Regions from separate parts of the Homo sapiens genome. Here all the other regions are linked to region 1. The links are contacts of gene promoters, found by promoter capture Hi-C in blood cells and fetal thymus (Javierre and others, 2016). All regions are on one chromosome and are shown on one strand. Each heading gives the region's core, a stretch centred on a gene start or on the middle of the fragment in contact. The rest is flanking DNA. Distances are from core to core; before and after follow the strand shown. Region 1 holds the start of XYLT1 (xylosyltransferase 1). Region 2 overlaps XYLT1 (xylosyltransferase 1). Region 3 overlaps XYLT1 (xylosyltransferase 1).

Region 1 (3,546 bases), core at 620-3,119:
CTACAGCAATGCTTATCTCACCATATATATATATATAATATTATATATATTTACATATAAATATATATATTATATATATGTTATATATTATATATTATATATATTATATGTACATATATATAAATATATTATATATAATATATTTATTATATACATTATATATAATATATATATATACAATATATATATATTTATATATACGTTTTTTAGATGGAGTCTTGCTCTGTAACCCAGGCTGGAGTGCAGTGGTGTGATCTCGGCTCACTGCAGCCTCTGCCTCCTGGGTTCAAGAGATTCTCCTGCCTCAGCCTCCTGAGTAGCTGGGATCAGGGGTGTGTGCCACCATGCCCGGCTAATTTTTGTATTTTTAGTAGAGACGGGGTTTCACCATGTTGGCAAGGCTGATCTCGAACTTCTGACCTCAGGTGATCCTCCTGTCTTGGCCTCCCAAAGTGCTGCGATTACAGGCATGAGCCACCGCGCCCAGGCCTATCTCACTATATTTTAATGATTAACATCCACATCAGGCTTCTCTAGACCTCAGGCTTGCTGAAGATGAGATTAAACCTCATTCACCTTTGGATGCGTGCACCTGGCCCAGTGTCTGACACAAGCTTTGTATTCACGGATGCTTGTGGAGTGGATGAAACAATCTCTTCCCACTCCCTGCCTCATTGTCTGATGAGCCTTCATTACACTCCACTTTCTTCTCTTTGTAAATTAGGATGAGGTGAAAAAGCACAGCAGACAAGATGCGAAGCATTCACGCCAAGTCCTCAATTCACAAACTGATTTGATCTGCTGTTGTATTCCCAGAGTGCTAGGTCCCGTATGGGACACCAACGCCATCCCATATGCTCACTGTTCTGCGCTGCTGTGTATAAAGCCCTGGGCAAGAGGACAAGGGAGGGAAAAACCAGAAAGACTGAGTCAGAGAAGGCTCGGGATGAAATTTGAGTCCATTGGGATCATTCTGCCTAAACGACAGAGGAGAAAGCTTGGGCTCAGGGAGGAGTCCTCCTCCTCCTGGCTCAAGGTCACCGGGACAGACCAGTCAGGATGGGAAAGAACTCCACTTTCAAGAGCAAGACCTGTTTCCCCAGGACCTGGGCCCTGTGCAGACAGGAAGGGGGACTTCAGGATGGATGGGGAAAAGGACACGCTGGGAGGCTGCGGGGCCAGCCTTTGGGGCTTGCATCCTGCGAAGGTTGAGTAACTCCACGGGTCTCCCTTTTGCCGCTATACCACTTGCCAACTGGGTTTGGAGTCTCTTGGCTTGTGAGTCCTCAGGGACCAGAGAAGTGACTCAGTGAACACTTAGTACATCGTTGGCACCGGGGATTGTGTGTGATTCAGGAGTCACTCACAGAGCTTGTGCTGATTAACTCCAGAAACTCACCCAAAGCCTCCTCCCCACCCCTTCAAGCCCAGGATGAAGGGATCAGACTGTGGCTCTGACACTCCTGAAATGTTTCTCACGTGTCCACCTGCCAACCGGTCTGGTACCGACAGAAGATCCCTGGACCGCGAACTCCGGGGCTAGGAGCTTCCTCCACGCACTGCCTCCTTCCAGCGGCCCACAGGGAAAACAGGACCTCGGGACCCCCTCTCTTCCTGACCTCCCCTGGATTCTGAGCGGGCCCACCCTCAACCAAAGGTCCCCTGTTTCGCGGCCCCTGCCTCTCTTTTTCCGCCTTGGGAATTGTCCCCCTCGCCCCCCATCCTACTCCCACTACGTCCTGAGGGGTGTCTGTCTTCTCTGATCGCCCCCACCCCCTTCCTTTCCCTCCTCCTTTTCCTCCCTCGGCTCCTCCCCCAGGCCCCGCCCTCTCCGCCTCGGCCCGCGTCCCCCCGGCGCCTTCCCCATCACCCTCCCCTCCAGCGGGGACAGGGGTGTGGGGAGGGGGGCGGCGGCGGCGGCCCGAGCGGGAGCCCGAGCGGCAGCCGGCGGCCGCGGGAGCTGCGGGGAGCGCGGGGGCGGCCCGGAGCGTGCCGGGGTCCCCGCGCCTCGCTCGCCGGCCGCGCTCCGAAGATGGTGGCGGCGCCGTGCGCCCGGAGGCTGGCCCGGCGCTCGCACTCGGCGCTGCTCGCGGCGCTCACGGTGCTGCTGCTGCAGACGCTGGTCGTGTGGAATTTCAGCAGCCTCGACTCCGGGGCCGGGGAGCGCCGCGGGGGCGCAGCGGTCGGCGGCGGGGAGCAGCCGCCCCCGGCCCCGGCCCCGCGCCGGGAGCGCCGGGACCTGCCCGCCGAGCCGGCTGCAGCCCGAGGAGGAGGAGGAGGCGGCGGCGGAGGAGGAGGAGGACGGGGGCCCCAGGCGCGGGCGCGGGGAGGCGGCCCCGGAGAACCGCGGGGACAGCAGCCGGCCAGCCGGGGGGCACTGCCCGCCCGGGCTCTGGTAAGATGCCCTTTCGGCTCGCGCCCCGCGGCGAGGGAGGGAGGAAGGCAGCCCGACCCCACGCCCCCCTAGCCCTTGAACTCGGTCATCAGACTGGGACTCTGCAAGCCTACCGACTCCACATCGCCTCTTGCCCCGGGAAGCCGGGTGGGGTCCCTGCCAAGGCTCAGGGGTCGTGGGCTGCCCCTTTCAGAGTCTGAGCACGGACCCCTTGGGGTCTGGGGGAAGTTTTCTCCAGCGGGGGCGCTTTGGGGGTTACCGGAGCCTGGCTGGGTTCCTGTTCCCCATCACTCTTGCTGGGGACCCCAGGTGACTTGCTCCGTGCGTGTAGGTCTTGGTGACTCGCTCCCTGCCTGAGTGAGTGGATCTCCCCGGATCCTCAGCCGCTGTTCCTGGGCGGTTGTCGCAGCAGCATCTCTCTGGTTTTTGCCGAGCTGGGTGCAGACAGTTGAGCCCTCTGTTCGTCCTGGCCTGCGATGAGGGCTGAGCTGGGCGTCCCAAGTCCCCGACCATGCCCCTGAATCAATACTCAGTCCGGGGTGTCTGGTCTTACTTTGGGTCTTCTGTTTCTCTTCTCTGGATGTTTGAGCCTTCCGTCTTCACCTTCTCTGTCTCTAACCTTGCCGTCTCCCATGCCCTCTGTGACTTTATCTCCTCCCCATCTCCAGTTTCAGGGCATGGCTCCTTCTCCTAGCTGGTTGTCTCTGTCTTTCTGTCTTGTTGCGGCCGGTTCAGGTCACCAGCTGTGTGTCCGACCACACCGTCAGGGCTTCCACTCCTATGGGATTACTTTGCCCTTCGTGGGTGTGAACAGTCAGGGCTCTGAAACTGTTTTTTCCGCAGATCTGGGGCCATCTGGGTGGCTGGGTGGGGAACTGACTTGTCTTCCTACCCTGTCCCTAACTTCTCCAGGGATACCTTTCCCACCTTCTCTGGGCTGCCTTGCCCAGCCTACTGAGCTAGGAGCAGGAGCACATGGGGCAGGAGGCCGGAGTCCCCATTTCAGAGCCAAGGTCTCAGTTCTCCAGGGGCGTGAGTTCTGCCTTAGGGCATAGCCAATGTGTTGTGTGTCTGTCTGTTTCTTCATCACACTACTTGTCTGCAAGGATTTGCCTAGCCGTTAAAGGATATTAGACACCAGGGGGATGGTT
Region 2 (3,546 bases), core at 632-3,131, 290 kb after region 1:
GACAGCTAGGTCAGAGCATGGTGGCTCAGGTCTGGCAGCTCCATGTGACCTCCTCTCCACCTTCTCACCATCAAAACATTGGGACCAGGATGCTTGGTCATACTGATGGATACAAAGCAAGGAGAGATGGTTGAATCCACCAGGGAGACCTTAGCTTACTGTACCCACCCCGTTGCATCAAGCGGTTGGGGTAACTCATCGTGGCCCCAAGAGGCTTAAGTACCACCCAGGCCTGAGGCAAGAAACATTAAAAAAAAAAGAAGTGCAATTCATTTGGGAGGAGGAAGGGTTCACAGAACAGATATCTAGCCCACTAATAACCATGTCTCAAGCAATCTCTCCAGCACTAAGTAATCCTACCCTCAGTTCCTCCCTTTGGGTAAATGTAGGAGAGAGATGGGCAGAGGAGAACCTGCTATGGGCAGCAGGCTAGAGTGCCCTCCCCAGGGTACTTTCCTCATAGGATTGTTAGAAACATGAAAGATAGTGGAACACAGGACCTAATCCGGAATTGGGCATTTTTTAACAAGGAAATTTTTTGATGATAATGGTAGTGATGACAATGATAATTAATAATCCTGTATAGTTATTAATTCTGGACAAAAACATGGTCTGGCCTTGTGTGGTCACTTTCCTTATTCTCTCCTTCTTTCTTCCTCTTATATTTTATGTCTCTATTCCTTGTACTAATACAGAAATGCAGATTGGGCAGGGGGCACCTGCCTTTGAGGAAGTCTGATCGTGATGAGAGTGAGGAAGGTAGTTGCCTTGAGCTGAGCCTTCTTTGCCTGTAGTTGGGCCCCCATATTCCCTCCCTGCTGCAAGGCTGTTTGAAGACAGCCCTAGTGTTTACTGGCCTTCTCTACCCCAATGAGGTGAAACAACATATTCCATTTCTCAAGTCCATTTCTCCACTTACTTTGAAAAATCAAGTGCATTTCTCCAGTTACTTTTTGAATGCAACTGCAATCTACCTGAAATTTCAAGTGGGAAACTTCCTTCCAATTCCCAGCCTCACCAACCCTCACCCCATCCCCATGCTCAAGTGGCCTGCCTCTGACCCTCCCCTGGTGGCCCCAGGCAATATCAGAAAGTGATTTGGACATCTGGGCAGGTCAGCTTCCTAGGAAATCATCATGGAACAGAAGCCAACGCAGAGAGCAAAGTCTTCATGGTTCATGAGACTCCCCTGCTGCCTCCTCCCACTCCCACTCAGCTTAGGTGAAGCAGGCCCATGAAGGTCAGATGGAGTGTCTCTAGAACCTGGAATCTAGTCTTGGCCCACTGCCTATAAGACCAGTTAATCCAAAAGTGGAGAATGGGAAGGGGAAGGCCATTTGGTAGTACTGGCCAGTTTTCCCATGGTAGGGGGTGAAGGGGAATCCCACAATGGTGGTTGTTCCCTTATGGAGAAGGAATGAAAAACTGTGCCCCTAAAAGCCATCACCCGTCTCCTATGTCCTTTCTCCTCCAGGGAGGGATTCTCCTCAGTGCAATTTAATTGTATTCATCAGTCAACATTACTTGGCAAACCGAGCCAGGGGCACAAACATTGCCACCCTTTCTCAGTCTAATCATGCTCTTCAGGATGCCGGAATCTGGTTTAAGGCCAAGCAGAAGCAATTTTTGATTACAGAGTCAATCTTTGTTTAAAATTTGCCACCCTGGGGAAGTTTCCAACAAGTTACTTTAAACAATGCATTCTCTGGACACCTACAGCTAAATAGTCCCATTAATCCAAATTGCTTTGCTGGGTTGTGGTGCAACCATTCAGGAATTGGGGCAGTGTCTCAGACAGGCTTCATGACAGTGATGGCTGCAGTACCAAGGGGGCACTGCTTTGTCATGAACTGAGCGACCGGGAGATGGCCCCACCCCTGAGAGTTCCCTGCCACTGAGTTTCTGCAGGTGCTAAGTGCTTCTTCTATGTTCTCCTTTAATCTCTCAGCCATCTGGTGAGATGGGACCTTCATTGTCCCCATTTGCAAGAGAAGGGACTTGAGCAGATGCTCAGCTACCCAGAAGTGGAGCTCAGTGGAGCTTAAACCCACCCATGTCCTTAACAATGAGTCAGGACTTCCCAAGTATGGCCTGTGGGCCGCTTGCAGTATGTAAGATGATTTAAAGAGAAATGCAGGCGAGTCTTTGAAAATGTCCATGTTTATCTATATTAACACATAGAAGGGAATAGGAACATGTTCAGCCCAGATTTTGGAAGCTGAAGTTTCCTTAAAAATAAAAAGTAAATAAATAAATAAAATGAAAGTTGATTTAAATGAGAAAATATTAACAAGGCAACAATACAAGGGGTAAGTGGCTCTTCAGTCATTTGGCAAGTACTTATTGAGTGCCTGGTATACTCCAGCCATTTTGCTGGGGGTTGGGAATATGGCAGTAAAGAAAGCAAGCACTGTTGTGCATCCTCCATGCTCATTAGAGAAAGAGACAGTAGATAAGTGAGCGGGTCATATATCAGGTAGAAATGAGTACCAGGAAAACTATTGCATGGAAAGAGGATAGGGTGGGTCAGGAAGACACTTCGATTAGACGGATATGCCAGAAAGTTATGAGGAAGATTGTGAATGACCCAAAAAAGAGAGTTATCAGGCGAGGGATCAACAAACTTCTTTTCTAGCTTTTATTTGAGGTTCAGGGGTACATGTGCAGGTGTGTTACATAGGTAAATTGTGTGTCCTGGGGGTTTGGTGTACAAATTACTGCATCATTCAGGTGATAAATGGAGTACCTGATAGTTTTTCGATCCTCACCCTCCCTGCCTCCTCAAGGAGACCCTGGTGTCTACCCTTCCCTTCTTTGTTTCCGTGTGTACTCAATGTTTAGCTCCCCCTTACAAGCGAGAATATGTATTTGGTTTTCTCTTCCTTTGTTAGTTCACTTAGGATAAAAGCCTCCAGCTCCGTTCATTCAACAAACTTTTTTTTTTTTTTTGAGACAGGGTCTCATTCTGTCACCCTGGCTGGAGTGCAGTGGCACAGTCACAGCTCACTGAAGCCCTGACCTCCCAGGCTCAAGTGGTCCTCCCATCTCAGCCTCCTGAGTAGCTGGGATTACAGGCTCATGTCACCACACTTGGATAATTTTTGTATTTTTGTAGAGACAGGGTTTTGCCATGTTGCCCAGGCTAGTCTCAAACTCCTGGGCTCAAGCCATCTGCCTGCCTCGAGCTCACAAAGTTCTGGGATTACAGGCATGAGCCACCACGCCCAGCCTCAAAAGTTTTTATTAAAAGGCCAGATAGTAAATATTTTAGGTTTTGTGGTACATATATGTCTCTCAGGATGACGAAACTCTGCTGTTGTAATACTAAGGCGGCCATAGACAGTATGTAAATGAATGGGTATGACTGTGTTCCAGTAAAATTTTCTTTCTAAAAACAGGTGGCAGGCAATAGTTTGCACTTGATCATTCTGCCAGATCTCCCATGTTTCAGATCGTGGCCTTGCCCAGAACACGTACATCTCAGCCCTTTCAAATTTAGTGCCAACCCACTCACCCATCTTCCTAGGCATGGCCTTTGCTTCACTA
Region 3 (3,546 bases), core at 447-2,946, 260 kb after region 1:
CCTCCACAACAAGGAATTATCTGGCCTCAAATATCAATAGTGCCAAGGTTGAGAAATCTTGCTCTAGGGGAGACGATAGTTTTGAAGCCATTCTGAGAACATGAGGCTTTGGTTCCCATCAAGCTTAGCATGGGAGCCTGAGTGAAGATGAGGATGCCAGATTCTTGCTAGCCAAAGCCTGGTCATAGAGCATGGTATTTGACGTCAGAACAGTGCGTATCCTAATTTCTTCTCCACCTCTTGGCTCTGTGACCTTGGGCAAGTTCCTCACCCTCTCTGAGCCTGGGATGATTATCTATAAATGGGGATAATTTTCATTTGCAGCATTGTTACAAGAGGTAAAAGCCTCATGAGTGAAAGAACCACATGAATGTTAAGTACTCAACAAATTAGAGTAAGAATCAAAAGGACAGTGTTTCTCCACAGACTTCTGTCTCTCTAGCAGGGAGGTGCTGTCCCAAAAGCCCACCCCAGGAGACTCCTGACAAACCCTCCTGGGCCCCTAAAGCAAGTGGGAGCCCTCATCCAGAAAGATCAAAACATTGTCTGGACCTTTGGGTCCTTGCAGGATGGATGGGGCTGCTTGAGTATCCCCCTGCCCTTTGCCTTTACCTCCTCTCATTTGTTTAACAAACTCAGCACATCCTAGTTTGGAAGCAAAGCTCATGGAGCCTAATTAACATTCCCCAAGCTTCCTTCGCATCCCTCCAGCCTTCACAATTCTGCCATATCCACATTCCACCTGCCATATTATTCTTGTAGTATTTTTACTGCAATAGACTCGCCTTTATTTTTATGTAAGCACATTTTATTTTAAAAGTAATTTTGCATCATGGCCATAAGTGGAAATCTTGCTGTCACTTGCCATGAGGAGACAGCAACAATGCGAAGAAATCAGTGAAACAAAAACAATGGCATTCAGTGCTAGCCGGGCACTCCTGTTACCTGCTGGAGATGCCAGTTCTGGGGGCAGGATTCTGCTTTTTGGAAAAGGAAGTTCAGTAGGGGAGTGCTGCTGAAGATTTGTTTGCATTGACCTGAGAGTTTGCTGGTAGGGTATTCAGGAGAGGTGGGTAAGAATTGAAAAAAGATTCACAGTCCCCCCTGACTCAATGCCATTCGATGTGAGCAGCATGTGAATCCTCTCTTGGGTAACTCTGACATCGCATTTAAGAACACACTGGGCAAGGTGGCTCACACCTGTAATCCCAGCACTGGGAGGCTGAAGGGGGAAGATCACTTGAGCCCAGGAGTTCAAGACCAACCTGGGCAACATAGGGAGACCTTATCTCTACAAATAATTTTTTTTTTAAGATGGAGTCTCATTTTGTCACCCAGGCTGGAGTGCAATGGTGTGATCTTGGCTCACTGCAACCTCCGCCTCCTGGGTTCAAGCAATTCTCCTGCCTCAGCCTCCTGAGTAGCTGGGATTATAGGCGTGCACCACCATGCCCAGCTCATTTTTGCATTTTTAGTAGAGACAGGGTTTCACCATATTGGTCAGGCTGGTCTCAAACTCTTGACCTTGTTATCCACCTGCTTTTGCATTTTTAGTAGAAACGGGGTTTCACCATGTTGGTCAGGCTGGTCTCAAACTCTTGACCTTGTGATCCACCCACCTCAGCCTCCCAAAGTGCTGGGATTACAGGCGTGAGCCACCACAGCCAGCCTACAGATAATTTTTCTAAAAAAATTAGATGGACATGGGATGCATGCCTCTGGTCCCAGCTACTCTGGAGGCTGAAGAGGGAGGATCATTTGAGCTCATGAGTTTGAGACCAGCCTGAGCAGCATAGGGAGACCTGGTCTCTACAAATATATATTTAATTAGCCAGGTGTGGTGTTCATGCCTCTAGTCCCAGCTACTCAGCAGGCTAAGGTAGGAGGATCTCTTGAGCCTGGAGTTTGAGACTGCAGTGAGCCATGATCACACCACTGCACTCCAGCCTGGGCAACAGAGCGAGATCCCGTCTTACGAATTTAAAAAAGACAAAAACAAAACCACAATCGCTATAGTCCTCAGGATCAGGTCCCTGTTAAACACTCTCCAGCCATGTGATTAGTTACAAGTTCAAGTGTGATGGGCGAGGTCCGCGGAGTCACACCACATGAACTCCTCCACAATCAGGCTGTATGGCTTTATTTTGCCTCATTTATAGCTGTGCTTACAGCATCACTTAGAGGTGAGTTCTCTTTGACAGATGAGGAAACTGAGGCATGAGAGGCAAAGTGACCTCCTAATAAATGGTAGGGCTGGGATGCAGACCCAGGCTAACCCCTTCTGTGGAATAGCTGAGTTAGGAAGTGCAGGATGGGCTCCTAAAAATAAAACATTACAAATAGTGACTTTATGATCCACCAATTCCATTTCTGGGAATATACTCCAAAGAATTGAAACAGTGACTCAAACAGGTACTTGTACACCCATGTTCAGAGCAACATTATTCATAACAGCCAAAAGGTGAAAGCCATTCAAGGGTCCATTGACAGATGAGTGGATCAATTGTGCTATATGCATACAGTGGAGTATTACTTGCCCTGAAAAAGGAATGAAATTCTGACATAGGCTACGACGTGGACAAACCAGGAGGGCACTGCGCCAAGTGAAAGGATCCAGACACAAAAGGAAGAATAATGTCTGATGTCACTTACATGAGGTTCCTTATCAAATTCATAGAGGCAGAAAGTAGAATGAAGCTTTCCAGGAGCTGAAGGAGGGGAGAGTGGGAAGTTATTGTTCAATGGATAGAAAGTTTCAGTTTTGCAAGATGAAAAGAGTTCTGGAGATGGATGGTGATAATAGTTGCACAACAGTGTAAGTATATTTATTATACTAAACTGTAAACTTAAAAATGCTTAAAATAGGCCAGATGTGTCTCATGCCTGTAATCCCAGCACTTTGGGAGGCCAAGGTGGGCTGATCACCTGCAGTCAAGAGTTTGAGACCAGCCTGGCCGACATGGCAAAACCCCATCTCTACTAAAAATACAAAAAAATTAGCCGGGCGTGGTGGTGGGCACCTGTAGTCTCAGCTCCTCAGGAGGCTGAGGCAGGAGAATCGCTTGAACCCGGGAGGTGGAGGTTGCAGTGAGCCGAGATTGTGCCACAGCACTCCAGCCTGGGTGACAGTGAGATTCCATCTCGAACCAAAAAAGGCTAAAATAGTAAATTATATGTTATCCATGTAGAGCATCCTTAATTCAAAAATCCAAAATCTGAAGTACTCCGAAATCCAGAACATTTTGGGCACATAATGCTACAAGCGGAAAATTCTATACATAAATGCTTAATGCAACTTTGATTAATGCACACAATTATTTAAAATATTGTATAAAATTACTTTCAGGCTATGTGTATAAAGTGTATATGAAACAGAAATGGATTTTGTGTTTAGGCTTGGGTCCCTTCCCCAAAATATCTCATTACATATACACAGATACTTCAAAATCTGAAAAAATTCAAAATTGGAAACACTTCTGGTTCCAGGCATTTCACATAAGGGATACTCAGCATGTATTATCTTGGACTACAACTTTTTTTTTTTTT

Evidence for each region. Contacts are between HindIII fragments. The CHiCAGO score rates a contact against its expected background, and 5 or more counts as called.
Region 2: a contact is called between a fragment that was not itself captured here and the fragment with the promoter of XYLT1 in region 1, in 2 of 17 cell types (neutrophils and non-activated CD4 T cells). The highest score is 5.3, in neutrophils.
Region 3: a contact is called between a fragment that was not itself captured here and the fragment with the promoter of XYLT1 in region 1, in 13 of 17 cell types (non-activated CD4 T cells, total CD4 T cells, naive CD8 T cells and 10 more). The highest score is 10.8, in non-activated CD4 T cells.

The regions. Positions count from the first base shown.
Region 1 is chr16:17,469,283-17,472,828 of GRCh38, reverse strand. XYLT1 (xylosyltransferase 1) reads left to right here and starts at 1,869. Exons shown (of 12, transcript NM_022166.4): 1 at 1,869-2,395. The coding sequence starts at 2,033. LOC107987234 (a long non-coding RNA gene) reads left to right here and starts at 2,402. Exons shown (of 2, transcript XR_001752091.2): 1 at 2,402-3,546. LOC105371106 (a long non-coding RNA gene) reads left to right here. Exons shown (of 3, transcript XR_933144.3): 3 at 725-1,822. RefSeq lists enhancers at 1,374-1,875, 2,650-2,699, 2,820-3,089. The HindIII fragment of the contact is 8,582 bases long and covers 1,000-3,546 here.
Region 2 is chr16:17,178,472-17,182,017 of GRCh38, reverse strand. The region is part of intron 5 of XYLT1 (xylosyltransferase 1); the gene reads left to right. Among named protein-coding and RNA genes, the nearest start is that of XYLT1, 290 kb to the left of the region's middle. The HindIII fragment of the contact is 5,584 bases long and covers 1-3,546 here.
Region 3 is chr16:17,208,342-17,211,887 of GRCh38, reverse strand. The region is part of intron 3 of XYLT1 (xylosyltransferase 1); the gene reads left to right. Among named protein-coding and RNA genes, the nearest start is that of XYLT1, 260 kb to the left of the region's middle. The HindIII fragment of the contact is 2,006 bases long and covers 694-2,699 here.